7 separate regions of the Homo sapiens genome follow, and all the other regions are linked to region 1. The links are contacts of gene promoters, found by promoter capture Hi-C in blood cells and fetal thymus (Javierre and others, 2016). All regions are on one chromosome and are shown on one strand. Each heading gives the region's core, a stretch centred on a gene start or on the middle of the fragment in contact. The rest is flanking DNA. Distances are from core to core; before and after follow the strand shown. Region 1 holds the start of GAB1 (GRB2 associated binding protein 1). Region 2 overlaps USP38-DT (USP38 divergent transcript). Region 3 overlaps USP38-DT (USP38 divergent transcript). Region 4 overlaps USP38-DT (USP38 divergent transcript). Region 5 overlaps SMARCA5 (SNF2 related chromatin remodeling ATPase 5). Region 6 has its middle 45 kb from the start of SMARCA5-AS1. Region 7 has its middle 4.7 kb from the start of SMARCA5.

Region 1 (3,368 bases), core at 539-3,038:
TGGGGCTTTTTCACAAATAAATTGGAGAAGATGTTTATTACAGAATCATGTTAAACTCAGGACCAGTATAATAATTGTGAAACACACAAGGAAGTAGGCAAATAGAACTAGGGTACCCAGTAAATTTCCTTCCTTCCTTCTTTCTCTCTCTCTCTCTTTTTTTTTTTTTTTTTTTTTGACGGAGTTTTGCTCTTGTTGCCCAGGCTGGAGCGCAGTGTCGCGATCTCGGCTCACCGCAATCTCCGCCTCCCGGGTTCAAGCTATTTTCCTGTCTCAGCCTCCCGAGTAGCTGGGATTATAGGCGCGCGCCACTACGCCCGGCTAATTTTTGTATTTTTAGTAGAGATTGGGTTTCTCCATGTTGGTCAGGCTGGTCTTGAACTCCCGACCTCAGTTGATCCGCCCGCCTCGGCCTCCCAAAGTGCTGGGATTACAGGCGTGAGCCACCGCGCCCGGCCAAGTGTCCCTCTTCTAGTCCAGCATCCGAACAGTAGATTTCAAACAAATACAAAGTTAAGTGGAATAGGCAACAAATGGAAGGGGTGTGAGACTTCAAAATGTCTCAGAGATAGGACCCAACCAAATCCTTGGCCTCGCCAAGCGCCCCCATCACTCTGGCAGAACAGCTCCAGAGACCAGCCCTGGCCAGCCCTGGGTCCCCATCTGTCCTCCCCTCCAAGCTGGTAGCTCCCGCGCCCTCTTGGTCTGTCCTTTAATCTCGCGCGGCGGGGACCGGCAGGATGGTGGTCTCCCCGCGGTTTTGCCTTTCAGGCTCTCAAGTAAAGAAAACCCTCGAAACTCCTGATCTCGAGCACAGCACAAGCTCCGAGCTGGCACCGGGCTGAGTCAAGATGGCAAGCCCCGGACTGAACATTCGAATGTCCCTCAGTCTTCCCCGCGCCCAAGCCCCGGTGCCTCTGCCCTAGCCGAGGCCTCTGCGGTCTTCCCGGGCGAGGAGCCGATTGGGGGCCGCCGGACGGCGGAGGACCCTGCTCCTGCTTCCCGAACTACAGATCCCAGGGTGCCTCTCGGACTCGCGCTCCCTCCCTCCCTTGCTCCCTCCCTTCGTCCGTCTCCTCCCCCGGCCCTTGTTGTTTTGGCTGGAAGCACTCCGGCGGAGTTTCAGAGAAAGTCTGGGCAGAAACCGGAGCCGGGCCTGAACGTGGGAAGGGGAGGAGGAGAGGGAGGAAGAAGGAGCCCGGCGGCCGGGAGAGGGAGGGAGGGATCGGGATCTGGGGCCGAGCCGCTCAGGACCTGCCGCGAGCCCCGGGGTGGGGGAGGCGGCGGGGGAGGAGCGCGAGGGGACGGGACAGCGGGATCCCTCCCAGGAGCCAAGCCGCCAAGCGCCTCGTTCCTCTGCTGCTCCCCGCCCTCTTCGGCGGCCGCGAGAGCGGACCCACCCTCCGGCTTGACCTGCGACCTCCCTGCGCCCGCCGCTCAGAAACGCCCCGCGCTTCGCTGCCAACCCTGCGGCTCCCTCTGTGACCCGGGACCAGCCCCGCGCCCGCTGCCCGTAGGCGGCTCGCGGCTTCCCCTTTCCTCGGCGTTCACCGAGCGCCGCGAAGTGACCCACCCTCCCCCGAGGAGAGGGAAGGAGGATCGCTCCGGGCGCATCGAAACCGAGGGCGGGTGGGCGGGCGAGCGGGCACCGCGCGGGGCATTGTGTGTGTGTGTGTGTGTGTGTGTGTGTGTGAGCAGCGCTGTGTCTGTTTCGGAAAGCGCTCTGGGGAGGTCTTGTCCCTAGGGGGCGGAGCGCAAAGGACAGAAGCTCCGGCACCGAGTCGGGGCAGAGTCCCGCTGAGTCCGAGCGCTGCTGAGGCAGCTGGCGAGACGGCACGTCTGGAGGCGAGGCGGGCGCACTGAAAGGAGGCCGGCGCGCCCGCGGCCCCGGCTCGCGTTCTGTTCAGGTTCGTGGGCCTGCAGAGGAGAGACTCGAACTCGTGGAACCCGCGCACCGTGGAGTCTGTCCGCCCAGTCCGTCCGGGGTGCGCGACCAGGAGAGCTAGGTTCTCGCCACTGCGCGCTCGGCAGGCGTCGGCTGTGTCGGGAGCGCGCCCGCCGCCCCTCAGCTGCCCGGCCCGGAGCCCGAGACGCGCGCACCATGAGCGGTGGTGAAGTGGTCTGCTCCGGATGGCTCCGCAAGTCCCCCCCGGAGAAAAAGTTGAAGCGTTATGTAAGTAGAGCTGCGGGCACCACTCCGCGGGCCTCGGCGTCCACACCCCTCCCCAGTCGGCTCGCCGGCGGCTGCAGCTGGCCGCGCGCGGGGCTGGTTCTTAAACGAATGCCGGTCTCTTTCCCCTTGGCCCCTACCCCTGGCGGGCTCGGGACAGGGTGCCTTGCACTCCCTCACGCCCAGGCATCCACTTGGCCGGACAACTTTCTTCCTCCAGGTTCCAGACAGCCTGCTTTGCGGGCCTGTTCGCCCCATAAAAGGACCTAGACGTCCAGCTAAACTCCTGCTGCATGCTTTTTTTCTTCCTTAGGAAGGATGGGGTGCGATGGAGAGAGGAGCCTTCTTCCTGCTTTATTCCTGCATCTGATTATTGGGCTGATGTGTGCTAAAGCTCCCGCACCGGGAAAACTGCCGAGGTTTTAGGGCTCACTAGCCCTTTCTTTGGTGGGCGCTCCCTCTCCTCCGCCCCTCGAGATGGGTTGCGGGAAGCGGGCTGTGGAGCTGAGGAGTTGGTAGTAGAGACAAGCATATCGAACGCGCGCAAAAGGGAAAGAAAGAAAAGTTATTACGCGCCCTGCCGTTTGCTTAGCAGGGTTCACATTTTCGCGGTTTTGAATTGAGGGACTTTGGAGTTTGGCCCGGGAGCCTTGGCGGTTTGCTGCGAGAGGAGGGCGCTGGGGGGGAGCCTAGTGGCTGGTGTTTGGGCGCCTTGGATGTGCTGTCAAACTCGGCAGGAGGGGACAGCTGAAGCCAGAAGGGATTTCAGTTGCGGTCCTTTCCCAGGGAACCAGAGTGGCTTTAATGGTGTTTGTGTAATTGATACAAGATGCTATGTGTTAAACCGTTTTAGCTGTTAGGAAAAATATTCCTTGAAAGTATCAACCTTGCTTTAGTGGAAACCTGTGTCCTCTTCAGAGGTCTGGGATCTTATTCTTCCTCCCCATTGGTTGTTTTGTTGCTGCTCCCTTGCAAAGGAAAGAAATGACACTTTTGTGCTGACATCTGGATCAAATATTTTTCTAGTAAAATGTGTTTGCAAAAGCAAAATTTATGCCCCCTTAAATATAATATAAATTTAATGCCTGTACGAAGGGAACCCGTTTGTCGTTGAGGAATATCTACACCCAGTATTAGAGCTCAGGTTAATCCTGTTAGTCACTGTTTGCTTGTATAGAACAGAGTGAAGTACACAGAG
Region 2 (3,119 bases), core at 411-2,910, 170 kb before region 1:
CTTAGCATCCTGCACATTCTTTTATGATGTGCCAAGAATGCAAGGCCCTGACCACTTCTGGTCCAGAACATTTCTCAAGGTTGAGATTGTAGTAAGCAACTTTGAGTGATAAAGTAATGCCTCCACCCCAGAAAAAAGAGCAGTCTTGCTTATTATTCACTATAAAAGCTGCGGAACCCCAAGTTCAGTGTTGCTGTCTTGTAACACGACTTACTGCATGGCTTCCAGCTGGTCCTCTGTGTCGCCCACATGAGAATGAGAAACAAGGTGAACCAATACAAACATACTGATGCTCCTGCTTCTTACTGTAATAAGTAATAATGTACTTCCTCTCTGACCCAGGAAACACATGTCTTCCATCAGCATGGATGAAACAGTAACAGGCTAACTTTTTAGCTTGTGGGCATGGTAAAATAAAATCCCAGAACAGACAAACCCTGCCTGACTCTGTAATAAACATCCCACGGCCCACAATAAACAGCATGAGGTAAATAGCATAGCTCACATGATCTGTTTCTAACATTTAATAATTTTACTGATTTGTTTCAAAAAAATGCCTCCAACAATAACACAAATTGCATTAAAAATTTTCACCGAGGCTCACTAAGGCATGACTCCTGGGCTATCAGAGGCAAGTAAACATTATTTTTCATGCTATTTAAATGGTATAAGGTACGTGTCACTATATAAATTGTTGTTAAAATACGGTGAGCTCCTAAAGGGCAAATAGATAAGATGAATTCAAGTTTGAGGAAAGGAAGATGTCTGTCTGTTGAGGGAAAGCCAGAATGGTAGAGAGAGACTGTTGATACAAGGATATGACTGATGAAGCAACATATCACAGAAGGTGGGGAGGGATGGAAGGTAAAAAAGCATCAGGATTAAGAAAAGGAAGAAAAACATTATACAAAACCTTTTTTTTCTATTGAAGAGGAGACAAATTAAGAAAGTTGTTGTTAACAATCCTCAATCTTTCCAATGCAGTAAGAATGAAGGCTGTTATAAAGAAAGAGAGGCAGGTATGGCATGCTTAGGCACTGGGGAAATAGGAAATATTTAGAGATAAATATAAAACTTTGTTAACAGCACTGAGGGCACAGCTGAGATTGGATAGCATGAATTAACAGTGTAACCACTTAGTCTGGTTTAGACTTATTCTTAACAAAATTTGAAGAGTCTGGGAACTGAAGTAGGAGAGTTGAAATGTAGGGTTGACCCGTAATCTAACTATAAAAATCTAACCAAATTAGATAATGCCTGTGGCCTTTAACTACTGATTAGTTGAAACTCTGTTCTTTTTCTAAGGTCTTTTATTAATCTTATAATAATCTATAGGAAGTTAAAGCTACTGTGAGACATATCATTGGTAAGTATCAAAAAAACTTGGAGTAGAGCAAATGAATCACTTAAATAACTAAAATATGCATCTTCAGTAAGCCAAGCTTAATAATTTATCCTTGCGATCTATCACCTCCAGATGACTTGATCAATAGCATAATATGAAACCTAATTATGAGATATATTAAGACAGAAGAATTTTTTGACTAGACAAAAAAATAGTACTGCCATTGCCTATAAGTTCCACTAAAAGAGGACACACTTTCTTTAGCTTTGCAACAATGTACTTGTAGATTATATTCGAAGTTTCTATTACAAGTCTTTAAAACAAGTCTCATTATCTTTTTATCTCAAACAAACCAATAAACAAACAGAATCCAATTTTTAGCTTTTCCACCAATCCCACCACTCTCTTCTCTTGGGCCCCTTTGTAATAGAGAAATTCTGTAATTAGCACTAATAATTTCACAATTCAGTCACAAGGCCTTCACAAGGCAGACATTTTGCCAACAGGCATTTCACTCATGACTAATCTAAAACCAAGCTTGTCCTTGAATCTGCATTGAGGTTGCACGTTTGTTTCATTATAGCTTCAATTGTGAATTTAAAGCTTTTATTAAAGACTTTCATCAAGATTAAGTTTATTATGCCCTTTATGCCTGTTGATTCTAGTTGCCACAAAAAGTCAAAATCAACTCATCCTCAGGACTCTAATTCCCAAAAGGTTCTGAACATCCCCTTATTTAACTCCATTTCTTATCTCTGCCCAACTCCTGAAATCTTTCCACTATGCTAAGACTCAGACAGTCACCAGCAAAATCACCTCAACATTCACTTAATTTTTACTTGATCAACCCTGTAGCCCTCTTGTCTGCAGCTTACTCAAAAGGTAGATGTTCTTTCCCTCAAACTCTACTGCTATTGGGTCTAGAGATTAAGAAGGTGACATTCTTATTACTTGTTACTCCTTCCAGACTATTCCGCCTCCCTCCTTCATTTAGATTTTATTAAATCAAACTATAGCGCTATCAACCTTTCCCTGATGCAGTGCTCAAACAACCTCCAAGTCACTCTCCTTCTACCTCATATCCTCAAGATTGTAGCTCCTGACTCACTGATACTGTCACAAACCTTATTCCTGTCATAATTCTCGGCTGACTTCAATGTCCACATAAATTACCTTTCCAGTATATTGTCACACAGTTCTTTGACTTGATCTCCTTTAATGGTTTTGCCCTCCCCCCTCTTCCAGCCACTTACTCTCATGGTCATAACTAAATGTCATTCCCAATAACTACAGCCCCTCTATCATTTCAATTTAAAACATTCGGTTTTCTGAGCACCAACTCCTATCTTTCCAGCTCACTCCCTCTAGTTGGAATTTGGAGAATTCCAACAACCCTCTGACCTACCAGAACCTGTAATTCATTGATCCTAACATCTTTTTATTGTCCTTCGCCCCTTATATTATTTACTCACTTCATTTTTATTCAGCTTAAATTCCGTGGTCCATCATAATCCCTCCCTTGCATACAGCCTAACTTTCCTGCCCTTAGCTTGCTTCCTTGTACTTGGCTAAGACACCACCCTGGTTCTGTCCAACTCTCTACCTATTCCATGCTTACACCTGTACACCTGTACATGTGAACGCAGCTGGAGGAAAACAAAATGAACAAATTGACTGGTATCACTAACTTCAAACAGGCCCTTAATGCTGGCTAGGAATTATACTTATTTCCAGTGTTCTAAACAACTATTACATCACTTCACCTCTCTCTTAA
Region 3 (3,241 bases), core at 261-2,760, 160 kb before region 1:
TAAGTCCCTTGCCATCTATCACTCCGGATGACCCATCCACAAACAGTCTAATCCATCACGTAGTGGAGCTTCCCTAAGGTCTGGTCTAACTTTGGCTTGGTATTCTATGGTATCTAAGCAGTTATGATCTGATGTCTCTTTGTTCTGGTCTCCTTTCCATAGGACACTGGCTGGATTCAGGCAAGTATCTGGTGTTACAACCAAATAATCTTTTTCTAGTAATATGGCTTCATATTTTAGAATCTGAGAATCCACTAACCATCTCCCAGCTTTCTGATTTAATATATTCCTGACCTGGTGTGGGGTGTTTACTATTAGGGCCCCACCAAACATTAGCTTTCGACTCTCCTCTACCAGCAGGGCTGTCGCAGCTACTGCTTGCACACATTCAGATCACCCCTGAGAGACAGGATCGAGAAGCTTGGAGACAAAAGCAACAGGTTGCCTCTTCCCTCCCCAGGTTTGAGTGAGCACCCCAAGGGCCATGCCCCGGTCTACTGTTACAAACAGATAGAATGGTTTCTCTAAAGATGGGAGGGCCAGGACCAGGACTGTAATGAGGGCCTGCTTTAGCTCTTTCACTGCCTTAATTTCATCTAGGGACCATTACAAGGGATTGGGCTCCTCTTCTAGTAACTTGAGATACAGAATTTTGTCTTTTAAGCATATGAGTCAATCCATAACCTACTGTAGCCAGTTAAACCTAAAAATTTTTGGAGTTTTCTCTTTGTCTTAGGCAAAGGCAAACCCACTATTCCCAATATTCTGAGTTTATTATCCACTTCCCTTCACCAATCAGGTGTCCTAAATATTTAACTTCTTTTTCTACAAACTGCAATTTGTTCTTAGAGACTCGCAATCCCCTTTCTCAAAGAAAATAAGGCAAGATTATGGTGGTTTCTGATCACTCGGCCTTCCTTTTGCCAGATATTAAAAGTTCATCTACATATTGTAACAACTGGGTTCCCCTGGAAGGTTGGAATTCCTCCAGGACTAAGATTTGACCAAATAAGTTTGGGGCTTCTGTGAAACCCTGTAGCAGTACAGTCCAGTGGTACTGTTGTTTTCTCCCAGTTATAGAATTTTCTCATTTCTTTTTTGCCTATGAACATCCAGTTACTCCAGCACCATTTGTTGAAAACACCATCCTTCCTTCACTGAATGGCTTTTGAATCTCTGTCAAAAATCAGTTTGGTGTATTTGTGTGGGTCTAGGTTATTGTTGCCCATTTCACTGATCTATGTGTCTCTCTGCCATTACCATACTGTCTTAATTACCCTGGCATACAATGAGTATTATTTTTGGGTAGTGATATGGTTTGGCTCTGTCCCTACCCAAATCTTATCTTGAATTGCAATGCCCATAATCCCCACGTGTTGAAGGAAGAAACAGGTGGATATAATTGAATCATGGGGGCAGGTTCCCCCTTCCTGTTCTCGTGATATAAGTTCTCACGAGATCTGATGATTTTATAACAGGGTTCCCCCTTAGCTCAGCTCTCGTTCTTCTCCTTCCTGCTGCCATGTGAAAGGATATGTTTGCTTCCCCTTCCACCATGATTTTAAGTTTCCTGAGGCCTCCCCAGCCATGCTGAACTGTGTTTATAAACCTTTCCTTTATAAATTACCCAGTCTCAGATACGTCTTTATTAGCAGCATAAGAACAAACACAGGTAAAATGATCCCTCTCACTTAATTCCTCCTTTTCAGAATTGTTGAAGCTACTCTGATTTGTTTTTCCAAATACATTTTAGAATAATCTTGCCTGTATATGAAGAAGAAAAAAAAAACCTGCCTGGAGTTTTAATAGGAATTGTATTAAACCTGCATATCGATTTAGAGATCATTAACATCTACACTATGGTGAGTCCTCCAATCCATGTATATGGTCATTTATTTAGATCTTCGATTTCTTTCATCAGTGTTTTGTTGTTTTCAGCATGAGTCCTGTACATCCACTGTCAGATTTACACCTACATAGTTTTTATTTTGAGCAATTATCAATGGTATATTTTTAATTTTGGTTTCCATGTGTTCATTGCTAGTACATAAAAGTACAACTGATTTTTGTCTATTATCTTATATTCTGAAACCCTGCTGAGTTTGTTTTTTAGTTCTAGAAATTACTGTGTAGACTCCTTACGACTTTTTCTAAACCATGTTTTTCATTTCATTTTTTAAAAGTTCATTCATTCAAAAAATAGTTAGATTGAACTGGGCATGGTGGCTCACGTAATCCCAGCACCTTGGGATGCTGAGATGGGAGGATCATTTGTGTCAGGAGTTCAAGACCAGCCTGGCCAACATGGTGAAACCCCATCTCTACTAAAAATACAAAAATTAGCCAGGTGTGGTGGTGGGTGCCTATAATCCCAGCTACTCAGGAGGCTGAGGAAGAAGAATTGCTTGAACCCAGGAAGTGGAGATTGCAGTGAGCTGAGACTGCAGTGAGCTGAGATCACACCACTGCACTCCAGCCTGGGCAACAGAGTGAGAGACTTCATCTCACAGACAAAAAAAATTGATAGATTGTTTACCCTAGTGTTCTAACTGCTAGATATAGAAGTAACTAATAAAATTAAGGGGTTCTTTTTGACCTCATGAAGCTTAGATTCTAGAGAACAGAAAAAGGCTGTAAACATATAATAAATGAGAACAGTAGGAAAAGACACAAGAGCAACTTGATGGAGGGCCTTAAAGTCAACAGTAGCCATTTGAATTTTAAGAGGAGAAGCACTGGAAGATTTAAAATAGGGTAGTGAGGCTGCTCTGCCTATGAAGTAGCCAATGGTATATTTTTAATTTTTAATTGTCTTTTATTCCTTTACTTTCTTAATAAACTTGCTTTCACTTTGCACTGTGAAAAAAATTAAATGAAATAGTGTCGTAAGATTAGCTTGATGTCCATTTTAAGTCATTAAAACAAAAACCATATCAAAGTGGTTGGTGTGTTTCTTTACAGTCTTTTTTTCTTTACAACTTAAAAAACATATGAATATAAATTTCATAAAGTCAGGGATTATTTGTAATTACTTCATATGATGGTTTATTTATCACAGTCCTCTCTAATCTATACAATCAGTTTGCTTTTGATTCTATTAGGTGATATAAATTTCCTAAGAGAAAACTAACCTCACAATAATGTTATTGCAGTTGGCCAACTCTAACCACTGCTTTTGGAACTGCCTTTTCTCTTTGCTTATCACAAACATAAACACATACACACACTTTTCATCTAATAG
Region 4 (3,077 bases), core at 99-2,598, 210 kb before region 1:
CAGATTAATCAGATTATCCCAAATTAATTACATTATCTTCTCCAACAAACAGAATAGGGAGAGGGATAAAAGCTTCCCTGCCAACCTGTCCCCCTAGGGAAGGGGTCTGCAAATATAGCCTTTGGGTCAAATCTTCCCAGCCTTCTGTTTTTGTATGGTTGTATGGGAAAATAACCATGTCCATTTGTTTACTTATTGTCTATGGCTGCTTTCATACTATAATGGCAGAGCTGAACATTTGTGACAAAGACCATATGGCCCACAAAATGGAATATATTTACTATGTTGTTCTTTACAGAAAAGGTTTGCCAAACCCTGCTCTAGAAATACTGGCTTGGCAAAACTTTATGACCATATCCACAATAAAAAATAGTCTTCATAATGTGGTCCTCTTTACATAATCATATATATTTTATATAATATAATCTGAAACAAATGTTTCATGAAATAATACCTCTTACTACATGTGATGCACTCTGACACTTTCTCTTCTCTTTTATATCATTTTTAAAGCTGATCACAATTCACTAAATTGACTTCATAACCCACTAATGAATTGCAACCTCCACCTTCTCTGAGGCAAGCATATAGGGAGAATGGTTTTCTCTGAGCTACAGTACATAAGAAATGCTGAAAAGATGATAGCAGCTGTTTGTTTTTTAATTAACTTTCTAGTAAAATATACTACTGCAGTAGGACAGAAAACATATATTTAGATTTTCCTGTGCTCAGTATTCATTTATTCAACAAAATTTCAACAATTATTTACATAATACCTATATTTCAAGTCTTTGCTAGGTTCTGTGGGTATAAAGGTGAAGAAAACAAACATGGAGATTAGACTTTAGTGGGGAAAACAAATTTGAAACAAATACAAAAACATGTAAGTACCAACTGTGATATGAAAAAAAGGTACTGAGTCCCATACATTTATAATGTGAGACGTGGATAGAAACTTACCTAGTTTAGGGCAGGATGAGGCTTTGTCTAGTTGGAATGGCTTCACTGGAGAAGTGAAAGTGGACCTGATAACTTCACAATTGAGAAGTTAACTAGGCAAACAAGGTGGGAAAGAGGAAGAGCAGAACCCAAAGAAAGGACTAGCCAAATCAATTTTAATAATTACACATCGAACATTATACAGCACCTACTATACTTCTCTAAGCACTTTATACATATTAATTCATGATTTGCCAGAAAGAGGCAGATATGAAACAAAAATTCATGCCCCAAAGCACGACTAAACCAAACAGTTGCAAGGCAGCCTTATAGAACAGGAAAAACATGGGCTTTAGTGTCAACTATACTTGTGTTTAAATTTCTACTTATCTGAGTGATCACAAGCAAATTGCCTAACTTTTCTGAGCCCCAGTTGCTTTACTACAAAATTAAATGTCATGAAAAATTAAATCAGTAATATATTGTACTATTGCCTGACATAAGTTAAAAATCAAATATTAGTTTTTTAATTCCAAATCTTCCCCTATAGACTCAAAACTCCTTGAAAGCATGTGGCTAAATCTAAGTTCATTATTAATTCAGAAAAAAAATTGTGGAGGGAAATTATACATATTGAACTGAAAAGACAAAAAATAATTCCTTCAAAACACTAAGGGAAAATTTTTTTCTACATTAATGCTGAAACCAATCTCTCTATTATATAAGAATGAGAGTAGAAAAGATATTTTATGACATGCAAGGTCTCAACAATTTACCTCCAATTCACCATTTTTTAGGTAGCTACTGGAGAACGTGCTCCACCAAATTAAGGGAATAAACTAAGAAAGAGGAAGACATGAAAAACAGGGCACAGAAGAATCCACACAGGGTAGAGTCACAGAGGATTCCCATATGATGGTGAAGGGAAGTCCCTGCAGGCCTAGAGACGCATCAATCCCAACTGCAGAACGGCACAGGCTCTGAGAGGGATGTCTTCATTAAAACCGACAAACTATCAATGTATTGACTACACTGAGAAGAATTCCAGGATTCTGTAGAAAACTTGGGGGGGATGAATTAGTAAAATGAATATAGAAAACAAAGCAAATTTTAAAATGAAGCAATTTTTAACTCCATGAAAAACAAAAATTGTACACAAAAGGAAATATAAACATGGCTTAGCTATGAACAATATTTACATATTTAAAACTATGTATACAATTACTATTCATTGAACCAAAAATTATGATTCAGGTGTATGGAAAGCATAGCGGGAAAGGCCATGTGTATTTCTATGGAGACAAGAGAGCTGTAGCCTCATCTTCCATATTAGGAAGTCAACAGGAAGTTTAAAATTTAAAAAGCAAGAAAGGGTAGTATATAGAAATATAGTAGAAATAACAGAAGAAACAAGCTAAAAAGAATTGAAAGTGGTTGGGAGAGGGTTGGGGATAGGGAGGATGGAGGACAGAACTGCTGCTTGTGTTTTAAGCCTTACAATAGTACATGTGCATTTGTGTGCAATAAATAAGAACTGAACTTTAAAATGATATTCAAATTGCATGTTCACAGAACCCCTGAAACACCTCTGAAGAGTCCAGGAAAAGTATTTTAAAACAATTTAAAGCTCAGTGGGAATTTCTTAGAATACTGGACACAGTACTGGATCACTCATCATAGATAACAAAGCTTAAGTGATTTTATATGAATGCTTTATTGGGGGCCACTTGAATTACACTTATGTTAACACTATAAGGTATCATTTTCCCATGTTACAGATTAGAAAACAATGTTAAATAACTCACTCAAGAGCACACTGCCAGTACAAAGATATGTGTGTGGTTTATATTCCCACACAGTACCAAAGAACACACCCAATTTTTCTTGAGTATGAAAAATACAATTCCAGGAGTCAAAATTTTTGTTCAAATGTTTTCTGAAATTTAATCCTGTCCAAAATGAAATTTTAAAAGTTATTCATTAAACTATCTCTTAGTAGCATATTTTTCTTTGCTATTCATTCCATGAACACATTTTTATTTATTACTGTGCTATAATTTATTGTCAACCATAAGATTTACTACAAACTCACGATATAAGAAAAGTTAGCAGCAACAAAAGGATACATGAGCTGTAAA
Region 5 (3,192 bases), core at 382-2,881, 200 kb after region 1:
ATTTAAAGGTTAGAATTTTTGTGTTGTTTGCTAAGTTGTTTCATGTCACTTCTTTGCCTGATAGCAGTGACAATTTGGGTTTGATTTAGATAGAAAAACATTTTGAATTTAAACCTAGGAAAAAAGACTTAAAATCTTTCCTCATCAGACTTAAAAATTATAATGTTGTATATTGTTTGGAGACATTATGTGTTTTATCTCAGTGTAACCTAGCAGAATTCATCTGATTCCTTACAGATGCAGTGTTATTACAAATTTTTAAAAGTTTTATATTTCAGAATATTTTAATTTTTTTTCTCAGTGTACCCATTTCAGTGTTATTTATGTGACTTTTAAACTAAATTCAAAATAACATGGTAATTTATTTAGGACCGAGCACATAGAATTGGGCAGACTAAGACAGTCAGAGTGTTCCGCTTTATAACTGATAACACTGTAGAAGAAAGAATAGTAGAACGTGCTGAGATGAAACTCAGACTGGATTCAATAGTCATTCAACAAGGTAAGCCATGGAACTTTAAAACTTTACCAAGTTGGATTGACACAACCTGTTTTTGTTTGAAAATCGTCTTAGAAGATTCTTGTTACTAAGCATCCATTGAGTCAAGCTTGCAGCCAGTAGAGATGACTTGTATTGCAAATACAGTAAACTTTAGTTTTGTCATTAAAAAGATGGATTTGGGCTCAGGACAGTTGAGGTTTGAATAATGAGTCTGCCAGTTAGCAGTTCTCTCTGGTTACATGAACCCATTTCCTCATCTGTTAAGTGGGGATAAAAATAACTACACTTAAGGATTTTAAAGGATTAAAGGGGATAATGTATATAAAATATCTGACATTCAGTGTGGTGGTTAATGATTTATATGTACTAACTACTCTTGATTACTGTGGGGAAAACTGAAGAAATAAAAATCAAAGAGCCTGATTTTATTCTTTTTTCTTGTCTGCAATTTACTGAGTACCCACCAGATGCTAGGCACCGTTCTTGGTGCTGAGAATTCAGTGGTAAATGGAACAAACAAGTATTCTTACTTTCAAAGAGTTTACAATTTAGTTGGGAGGGAGAGATGAAGTAAACAAGGGTATAAGTAGGAGTAGGGGGTGAGAGTGGGATTTTATTTTGGATCAATTGAAGGAAACTTAAGTTCTCATTCCAGATCAGCTTTTAAGGATGACATAATTTATGTTTTCATGAAGCCTACTATAAAGTTGATGATGGGAAATATAAAATTCAAGAAAAGGGGTGGGAAACTTAATAATTTCAAGTGTGCATTGGTTTCCTTTGTAACTGCATTTGTGAGCATGTATTTACTATCTGTCTATAAAGCTGAAAGGCATACTGTTACATTGTTTACTGATTATGTAGGTATCTTGATTTTGTCAGTCTCTGATGTCCATGTAAGAGAGTATTGTACATGTCTTTGGTATCCCTAATGCTATTCATAGTGTTAGCCATATGTCTGCATACCTGAAGACAATAAATTATTGCTTATTTTTACAAATCGTTTCCCTTAATAAAGTGTTTACTTTGTGCCAGGCAGTGTGCTATATACTTAACATTTCATTTTCTCCTTTAGTCTTCATGCCAACTTGAGATGTTAGCATCAGAGATAAAGGCTTTTGAGAGGTTAAATTACTTGTTCATTGTACATACAGCTGGGAAGTGACTCAAGGGGGATCAAGAACTTTGTTAACTCTTAAGTGTTTAATTAGAAAAGTCTCTGGGGACTTCTCGAGGCTGCCACCCCGTGATGTTATCTCATGGGTGATATAATGGCTAATGTTTTATTTTTCTTCACACATCCATGTGTTTTGAAATACACCTGCCGTGTGTTTCTTGTTCTCAGTTATTTTCATCCATGAAACACTTTTTTTTTTTTTGAGATGGAGTTTTGTTCTTGTTACTCAGGCTGGAGTGCAATGGCACGATCTCGGCTCACTGCAACCTCCGCTTCCTGGGTTCAAGCAATTCTGCTGCCTCAGCCTCCTGAGTAGCTGGATTTACAGATGCCCGCCACCACACCTGGCTAATTTTTTTGTATTTTTAGTAGAGACAGGGTTTCACTTTGTTGGCCAGGCTGGTCTTGAACTCCTGACCTCAGGCGATCCACCCACCTCAGCCTCCCAAAGTGCTGGATTACAGGTATGAGCCACCACGCCTGTCCAAAACACTTTTTTTAAAGATAAAAAAGACCTTAATTGATTCATAATTAATTTAGAAATCTTGAGGTTTTTTTACTTCATATTTACTGTGGCAATTTTTGGAGCAAACCTTCAGGCTAATAGCTTTCTTGTGCCGTTTGTAGACATGTTAGTCAAACAGCAAGCCTTAAGTGCATACCTTTGTGTTACTGTTTTTTATTTGAGGGACATAATTAAAAACGAGAGTACACAAGCACTTTACATCTGAAGGTTCCGGAACCTTCCTGCCCAACTTGGAAGTAGTTTGTATAAGCATAAGAACATTTTGGTAGCAATGGTAGCATCCAATCCAAGGAAACATACCTTGTGGATATCTCCTCACTTACAAAGTCATGGATGTTTGGCTGTATATCCTATTATGGGTCCCAAACCATGATACAAGTATTTAAAGAAGTTGTTGAAAACTTGGATCTTTTTCCACTTACTTACAAGTTGGTTGGCATATAAAAATCAAAGCTTTGTTTAGGTGTATGTGAGTGACCCTTGAGGAGGGTGAAAACAAGTCTTTCTGGGTTTTTGTTTGTTTTTTTATACCTGTATTTTTGAAAAATTACAAGGTTGTCCAAACTCCTGCCAACTGAAAATATTTATTAATTTATTAATGGTGAGTTTCTTCGATGATCCAGATACATTTTCTCACCAGGTGTGGTAGTGCATGCCTTTAGTCCTAGCTACTTGGGAAGCTGAGACAGGAGAATGGCTTGAGCAGGGAGTTGAAGGCTGCAGTGACTATGGTCCTGTCATTGCACTCCAGCCTAAGCAACAGAGCAAGACTCCATCTCAAAAAAATAAACGAATAAAATAAGTTTTTAGGAGTTTCAGTTCTTCTGGAAGTTTTCTTTAAAAAGAAACTGATGTTACATATTTCAGTTCTGTGTAAAGTTTGGCCTAGGTGAAGGATTTTTTACTTTACTTTTCTAAGGAGAAAAGCTGATTTGGGGAGTATTAGTTAATAACACCTTTCTGCTCATCAGAAACTTGTGTGTATAA
Region 6 (3,325 bases), core at 75-2,574, 220 kb after region 1:
CTAGCAAGGACTAAGCACTGCTTCTGTAGACCATCGGTATTTCTCCATGGCTGTTTGAATTTTTGTCAAAGCTTCTGTGTCTCATGCACACTAGTGACTTTTGAGACAGAGTCTTGCTCTGTCACCCAGGTTGGAGTGCAGTGGTGCGATCTAGGCTCACTGCAACCTCTGCCACCCAGGTTCAAGCAATTCTCCTGGCTCAGCCTTCCGGATAGCTGGGACTACAGGCATGCACCACACCTGGCTAATTACTGTATTTTTAGTAGAGACAGGGTTTCACCATATTGGCCAGGCTGGTCTCGAACTCCTGGCCTCAAATGATCTGCCTGCCTCCGCCTCCCAAATGTTGAGATTACAGGTGTGAGCCACTGCATCTGGCCTGATGCAGATTGATAATTTCTTGAGTGAGGCAGTGCTGTTGCCTAGTAGCAAGGCTTAGCTGGGTGAGACATTACTAGCTGCCTTCAGAAGCGGATCTCTGCCCTGAAGTTTACCAGCCTGCTTTCCTTGATGCCCATGCTGGCTGGGTGTAGGGATCCTGAGTGGAGGGAAAAAGAAGAATAGATGATACAGATTTGCTGTGCAAAGGCGGAGTTCTTACTGGCTCTTCCTCACAAACAGGCTGGTGATTAGCTGACTTTCAGATTCCCTTCTGGGAGGTGGCAAGGGGCCATCTGGTCATCCTAGCTTTGCAAGGAGTAACTTTTTTTTTTTTCATTTTATATGCCCTTTAATCCCAGTAGATGGATAGGTTTGCTTTCTTAGTATGCTTTCCAGTTGTAGAAAGGTCTTTTCTCTGGGTATTGGCTTTCCCCCAGCCTCCTATTTTTTGCGCTCCCCCTCCTCCCCAGCCACCTCTTTCCCTGGGAGCCAACTTGATAAAAGTAATGGCACAAGTCTTGCAGAATACTCCTACCAATCTAAATGCTGCAGACGCCACAGTGCTTTTTTCTCACCCTTAATAGTCGTAAGATAAGTTAGAGGGAGCTCCTTCAAGAGTACGCTGAGTTTAGTTTCTTCACAGCAGGAACTAATCTTTAAAAAAAATTATCATTGGGCTCCTTATTGTAACTGGACAGTACTGGAACTGGGTGGGTGCTTGATAAGAGAATGAATAGTTTAGGTAGTTACAATGAAACCACAGGCACCTGTAGAGGTCTCCCCAGGCTCACCTTGACGCTCTGATTGGCGGCTGCAGACCCCATCCGCGAGATGGCAGTGTTAGGAACAAAGGTGAGCTGCCCACTGCAGGTCAAACGCTGCCGGCTACCAGCTGCAGCTGGGAGTGAAAGACTAGAATACAGAAAGGCGCAGGCAGTCACGTAGGACTAGGCCGGGTTTAACACCCGAACAGTGGTGCTAGAAGGTCAGAGTCTTCTACGTACATGTTGGAAACATCCTTGATTGTCTAGCACCAAGACTTTTAAACACAGGGGGACAAATCATCACTTTGGGTATTTGTAATTGTTCGTCAGTTCAAATCTCTTGGTTTTAAAAAAATACTTTCCCTCTGCGCGACTGGCGCGTCACGTCGCGCGCGACCAGTCCGCAGGGCTCCTCCCGCGCTGCTGATAGGCCCGCAGACGGCGGCCCAGCAGAGGAGCGGAAAGCATGGTCCGGGGGGCGGCGGACGCCTGGTAGGCGCTCGGGCCGTTGTTGTGGGGCTGCGCGCTGGCGCTGCAGGGCGGGATGCTGTACCCAAGAGAGAGGCCGTCGCGGGAGCGGAAGAAGCTGGACCGCCTCTGGAGCTTCCGCGCCGACTTCTTCGACAAACTGTGCCTTGGCTTCTAGGAGTAGTGGTATCGGCGTCTGCTGCGAGAGTCGGGCTCCACCATGGACATACCGGTTCCCTCCAGCTTCAACGACGTTGGCCAGGACTGGCGGCTGCGGCATTTTGTAGACCAGATGTGGTACGAACGGGAGGTGACCTTCCTGGAGCAATGGACCCAGGACCTGCACACAAGAGTGGTACTGAGGATTGTCAGTGCCCACTCCTATGCCATCGTGTGGGTGAATGGGGTCGACGCGCTAGAGCATGAGGGATCTACCTCCCCTTTGACACCGACATCAGTAGCCTGTTCCAGGTGGGGCCCCTGCCCTCCCGCCTCCGCATCACTATCACCATCGGCAACATGCTCATCTCCTCCACCCTGCCACCAGGGAGCATCCTCGACATGGCCGACACCTCCACGTGGGTACCATCCTGCTTCCACCGCAGACACCCACCTTCCTGTCCCACCCCGTGGGGCATTACATTAGGGTAATTACATTAGGTAAGTCACATATCAGTGACTTACAAATTTTGTAAGTAATTAAGAAATTTTCAATAAGTGTGGAGCTGAATATTTACATGAGCCCTTCAAAAACTGATAGTTAATGGAATAAATGAAAATAACAGGAGAGACTTTGTTGAAAGAAGACAAAATAGTCAAGGAAGTGATAGAGGATACAAAAGAAAGATGAAAACTTACATTCATTTAATGTCTAACCGTGTGCCAAAAGACAATATTATTATTTAGTTTTCATAACCACAACATTTGGTGGATATGATTGCTTCCATTATATAGGTTAGGAAAGTAAAGCTTAGGGGTTTGTGAACCCACTAGTTTAAAGTTGTGTAGCCAATAGGTGGTTGAGTGAGAATTCAAAACTGGAACAGATTTGCTTGATCCAGAATGGTATAACTTTATTGTCCATGCATTGTCTTCTACATTTTACTGCCTGTAAAGTGGGAGTCAGTTATGGGAGGAGACCCAGAATGTCACAGGTTTTGAAAGCTGCTGTGGAAAATTTGGAAGGAGGCATTGGATTTAATGACTGATACAGGTCAGTGCAGATTGACCTTGGAGAGAACAGTTTTCTTCAGTGGCATGGTAGTGTTCAAAACAGGATCTGATGGTAAAGAAAATGTAGAACCAGTGTGTGTAGACTCCTTGATGGAAAAGTTTATTTGTAAAATATCAGAGGAAAATTATAATATAGATTTGTCCATTCAAACCCCAAAGTCCAGATTCTTACTGCAATATTTGATGTAGCCAATATACAGCAGTTGAGTTCAATTTTGGCCCCTGTTTATGTGTATGCTAAAGAAAAATAACAATCCTAAGCCTATGCCACTTAAACAAGAGGATGTGATTATACTATGAAACACTTGTGACCATAGGAATATAGCAGTGCTAAGGCAAAATAGGTCTTAACTTGACTTTTCCTGTCATTTGCTGCCATTGTTTGCCAAAGGTCTAGCACCTATCTTCAGAGGAAAGTCAAGAAATTAGTGCTCAGATGGTGGGATGAATTCCTGAATTATTGTTGGCTCTAGTAGTTT
Region 7 (3,207 bases), core at 214-2,713, 170 kb after region 1:
ATATGAATGTTATAAGCAGAAAACCTTCCCTGTTTCAGATCTTAGAGGGAGAGGATTCAATCTCACTAAGTATAATGTTTGCTGTAGGTATTTTGCTGATGCTCTGTATTAAGAGGAGGAAGTTCCACTCTATTTGTTTTCTCTTTTTTTTTTTTTTTCTGAGAGTTTTGTTCTAAATGGGTGTTGGAATTTTGTCAAATGCTTTTTCCTCATCAGTCAATATAATCATGTGAGTTTTCTTCTCTAGCCTGTTGATATGGCAGACAACATTGACTAATACTCAAATATTGAATCAGTGTTGAATATCTGGAATAAATCACATTTGATCAGGGTGCATAATTCTTTTTACACATTGTTTAATTGTATCTGATAATATTTTGTTAAGGATTTGTCTGTATTCATCAGTGATACTGGTCTGTCATTTTCTTTCTTATGTAGTGTCTGTCTGATTTGGTATTAGAGATAAAGCACCTTCATAAAATGAATTACAAAGTGTATCATCCTCTTCTATTATCTGCAGGAGATAGTATGGAATTGGTATTAATTCATCTTTAAATATTTGGTAGAATTTTTCATTGAAACCATCTGTGCCTGAAGATTTCTTCTTTGGGAGTTTTTAATTTATCAATTTAATTTCCTAAATAGTTACAGTGCTATTCATATGATCTTTTTATACTGTTTAAGTGGCTTGAATTTTTCAAGGAAGTGGTTTTAAGTTGTCAAATTTATGTGTGTCGTACTCCTTACTACCCTTTTGATGTTTTCAAGGTCTACAATGATAGGTCCTGTTTTATTCCTGATATTAGTGATTTGAGCTTTGTTTCTTCCTTCCTTCTTACCCTCTCTTTTTTTCCTTTCTTCCTTTCTTGTCAGACTTCCTAGAGGTTTGCCAATTTTACGTATCTTTTCAAAGAACCAGTTTTTGCTTTTTATTTTCCGTATTTAATTTTATTGACTCCTGCTCTTACCTTTATTATTTCCTTCCTTTTGTTTACTTTGGATTTATCCTTGCTCTGCTTTTTTTAGTTTTTTGAGGTGAAAGCTTACATTTGAGACTATTCTCTTTTCTGAATGTAAGCATTTAGTGTATAATTTCCCTCTAAGCACTGTTTTAGCTGTGTTCCACAAATTTTAATATATTGTATTTTTATTCTGTTCAATGTACTTTTTGATTTCTCTTGAGACCTCTCTTTGACCCATGGATTATTTAGAAGCACGTCATTTAGTTTGAATATATCCCTGGTAACATTTTGTTACTGATTTCTGGTTTGACTCCATTGTGGTTAAAAAACATACTCTGTATGATTTCACATCTTTTAAATTTGTTAAGGTTTATGGTCTATCTTGCTATATTTTCTGTGGGTTCTTGAAAAGAATGTGTATAGTCCTACTTTTGTAGAAGAAAAAAATATGTGCAGTGTTGTATAAATGTCAATTAGATCCTATTGGCTGTTGTTAAGTTCTTCTATACCCTTGCTGGTTTTCTGCCTAGTTGTAGTATCAGTTGTTGAGAGATGCTGTAGTCTCCACATATAATTGTGGATTTGTTATTTCTAATTTCAGTTCTGTCACCTTTTGCTTCACATATTTTGCAGCTCTGTTGTTTGGTACATATACATTTAAAATTGCTATGTCTTCTGGGTTGACACTTTCATCATTATATAATGTCCCTCTTTGTCTCATAATTTTCTTTGCTCTGAAGTCTACTTTATCTGATAATGATATAGCCACTCCTGTTTTCTTTTTGCTATTGTTTTAATGATATATATTTTCCATCTTTTTACTTTCAATATTTTGAGCAAAAGACTGCCTAATTTCCTTTGTCTGAAGTTCCTTTTAATAAATGAGATAAAAACTAAATAAAAAAACTCTAATTTCTTAATTGAAGCTTTGTAGTTTATTATTTCAAAAATGTTTCAAAGATGGTGGTTAAAATTTAACTTTGGATCATAATATTTGAGTTCCTAGAAATACTTTACCTAGAACCAGCCCAACAAAAAAGAAATTATTTTTTCATGAGCAGGAAGAAATGCAGAGAAAACCTGAAAAACTTTGACTACATAAACATATGCATATATACCGAGCAGACACAAAGTCTCCCACTATTTAGTTGGTGACTAAATATGAGGGGAATGAAGGGAATATATCCTTACCTGTTTATTAACAGTACAGTTAATGTTTCTCTTTAACTGAAATCTCTGTACATTGACAAATGACCTATGTGGGAGAACTCTAAAAAAGATACATACAACATGTAATCATTGGTATCTGGTGTTGGAAATACCCATTCTTAGATACAAACTCAATACAGTTTTATTGTCTTGCAGTAATCAGACTTTATTTTCTTAAGCTTTGACAAAATGAGTTGCAATGAAGAGAGGTGTTGCATTTCTTCTTTGTCCTTGAGAAAACTTTAACTCCTTTCTGTTACCATTCAAGGACACAATGCTGAGAGAGCCCTGGCTCTTCGGCACATTTTTGTCCTCTGGCAACATCTCTTTGTTCCATTGTATTTCTGTACTGTACTTGCTGTTCTAGCACATTAAATCTAACAGAGGAAATTTTAGGTGTAAACTATGTATATACATATTGGAGATAGAACACTAACATTATTTTACACTGTAGCATTCTGTTGCTGGGAATACGACTAAAGCTCTAATCCTTTCTGGTGTTTTCTTGCTACCAAACCCCTTACCCTCCTCCTTCTTTGGTTCCTCTTCTTTCAACTAGACTCTAAACCTTAGGCTTATGATTCTCAAGGATAAGACTAACACTTGAACCCAGAACTCACTATATGTCAGGCACTGTATCATGTACCTTATACTGTCTCATTTAATTTTTATGACATCATAATATTATCTCAAAATAAAGCTAGGAAAATATAATAATAAAAAGATGAGAAAATTGATTTCAAAGAGGTTAGATAACTTGTCTGCATTCACACAGCTACTAAGTTCCAGAGCCTGCACTGGAATCTAGGCTTGCCTGCTCCCCAACCCACTCTTTTACCAACACATGAATTCTGTATTATGTGATCAATTCAACAACTAGCTGCTAGTTTTAGCCTTTTAGCAGGATTTTGTGATTTGGCCACCATATTAGTATTGCTATCTGCCTGAGGAACACAGCTAATGTCCCTGTAGCTGTTTCTAGGCTTCATGTCTTTTCTGTAGCTCTTCTCTGCTTTTCCTTTCTGGTTCTAAACTC

Evidence for each region. The method cuts DNA at HindIII sites, captures the fragments that hold promoters and counts their contacts. A CHiCAGO score of 5 or more calls a contact.
Region 2: a contact is called between a fragment that was not itself captured here and the fragment with the promoter of GAB1 in region 1, in 1 of 17 cell types (neutrophils). The highest score is 5.7, in neutrophils.
Region 3: a fragment that was not itself captured here is called in contact with the fragment with the promoter of GAB1 in region 1 in 1 of 17 cell types (neutrophils); the score reaches 5.6 in neutrophils.
Region 4: a fragment that was not itself captured here is called in contact with the fragment with the promoter of GAB1 in region 1 in 1 of 17 cell types (neutrophils); the score reaches 6.1 in neutrophils.
Region 5: a fragment that was not itself captured here is called in contact with the fragment with the promoter of GAB1 in region 1 in 1 of 17 cell types (neutrophils); the score reaches 8.3 in neutrophils.
Region 6: a fragment that was not itself captured here is called in contact with the fragment with the promoter of GAB1 in region 1 in 1 of 17 cell types (neutrophils); the score reaches 6.5 in neutrophils.
Region 7: a contact is called between a fragment that was not itself captured here and the fragment with the promoter of GAB1 in region 1, in 11 of 17 cell types (neutrophils, monocytes, naive B cells and 8 more). The highest score is 28.1, in neutrophils.

The regions. Positions count from the first base shown.
Region 1 is chr4:143,335,088-143,338,455 of GRCh38, forward strand. It overlaps GAB1 (GRB2 associated binding protein 1), which reads left to right and starts at 1,789. Exons shown (of 10, transcript NM_002039.4): 1 at 1,789-2,173. The coding sequence starts at 2,102. It also overlaps the pseudogene LOC124900789. RefSeq lists enhancers at 596-805, 1,715-2,528 and silencers at 998-1,165, 1,106-1,405, 1,506-1,565, 1,636-1,685. The HindIII fragment of the contact is 8,165 bases long and covers 1-3,368 here.
Region 2 is chr4:143,160,569-143,163,687 of GRCh38, forward strand. All of the region lies in intron 1 of USP38-DT (USP38 divergent transcript), which reads right to left. Among named protein-coding and RNA genes, the nearest start is that of USP38-DT, 23 kb to the right of the region's middle. The HindIII fragment of the contact is 440 bases long and covers 1,441-1,880 here.
Region 3 is chr4:143,179,400-143,182,640 of GRCh38, forward strand. The region is part of intron 1 of USP38-DT (USP38 divergent transcript); the gene reads right to left. Among named protein-coding and RNA genes, the nearest start is that of USP38-DT, 3.8 kb to the right of the region's middle. The HindIII fragment of the contact is 2,185 bases long and covers 419-2,603 here.
Region 4 is chr4:143,127,733-143,130,809 of GRCh38, forward strand. The region is part of intron 1 of USP38-DT (USP38 divergent transcript); the gene reads right to left. Among named protein-coding and RNA genes, the nearest start is that of USP38-DT, 56 kb to the right of the region's middle. The HindIII fragment of the contact is 2,556 bases long and covers 71-2,626 here.
Region 5 is chr4:143,539,994-143,543,185 of GRCh38, forward strand. It overlaps SMARCA5 (SNF2 related chromatin remodeling ATPase 5), which reads left to right. Exons shown (of 24, transcript NM_003601.4): 14 at 370-502. Among named protein-coding and RNA genes, the nearest start is that of SMARCA5-AS1, 27 kb to the left of the region's middle. The HindIII fragment of the contact is 2,050 bases long and covers 607-2,656 here.
Region 6 is chr4:143,557,876-143,561,200 of GRCh38, forward strand. It overlaps the pseudogene GUSBP5. Among named protein-coding and RNA genes, the nearest start is that of SMARCA5-AS1, 45 kb to the left of the region's middle. RefSeq lists enhancers at 1,339-1,498, 1,509-1,618, 1,749-1,848. The HindIII fragment of the contact is 2,511 bases long and covers 70-2,580 here.
Region 7 is chr4:143,507,389-143,510,595 of GRCh38, forward strand. No RefSeq gene overlaps it. Among named protein-coding and RNA genes, the nearest start is that of SMARCA5, 4.7 kb to the right of the region's middle. The HindIII fragment of the contact is 846 bases long and covers 1,041-1,886 here.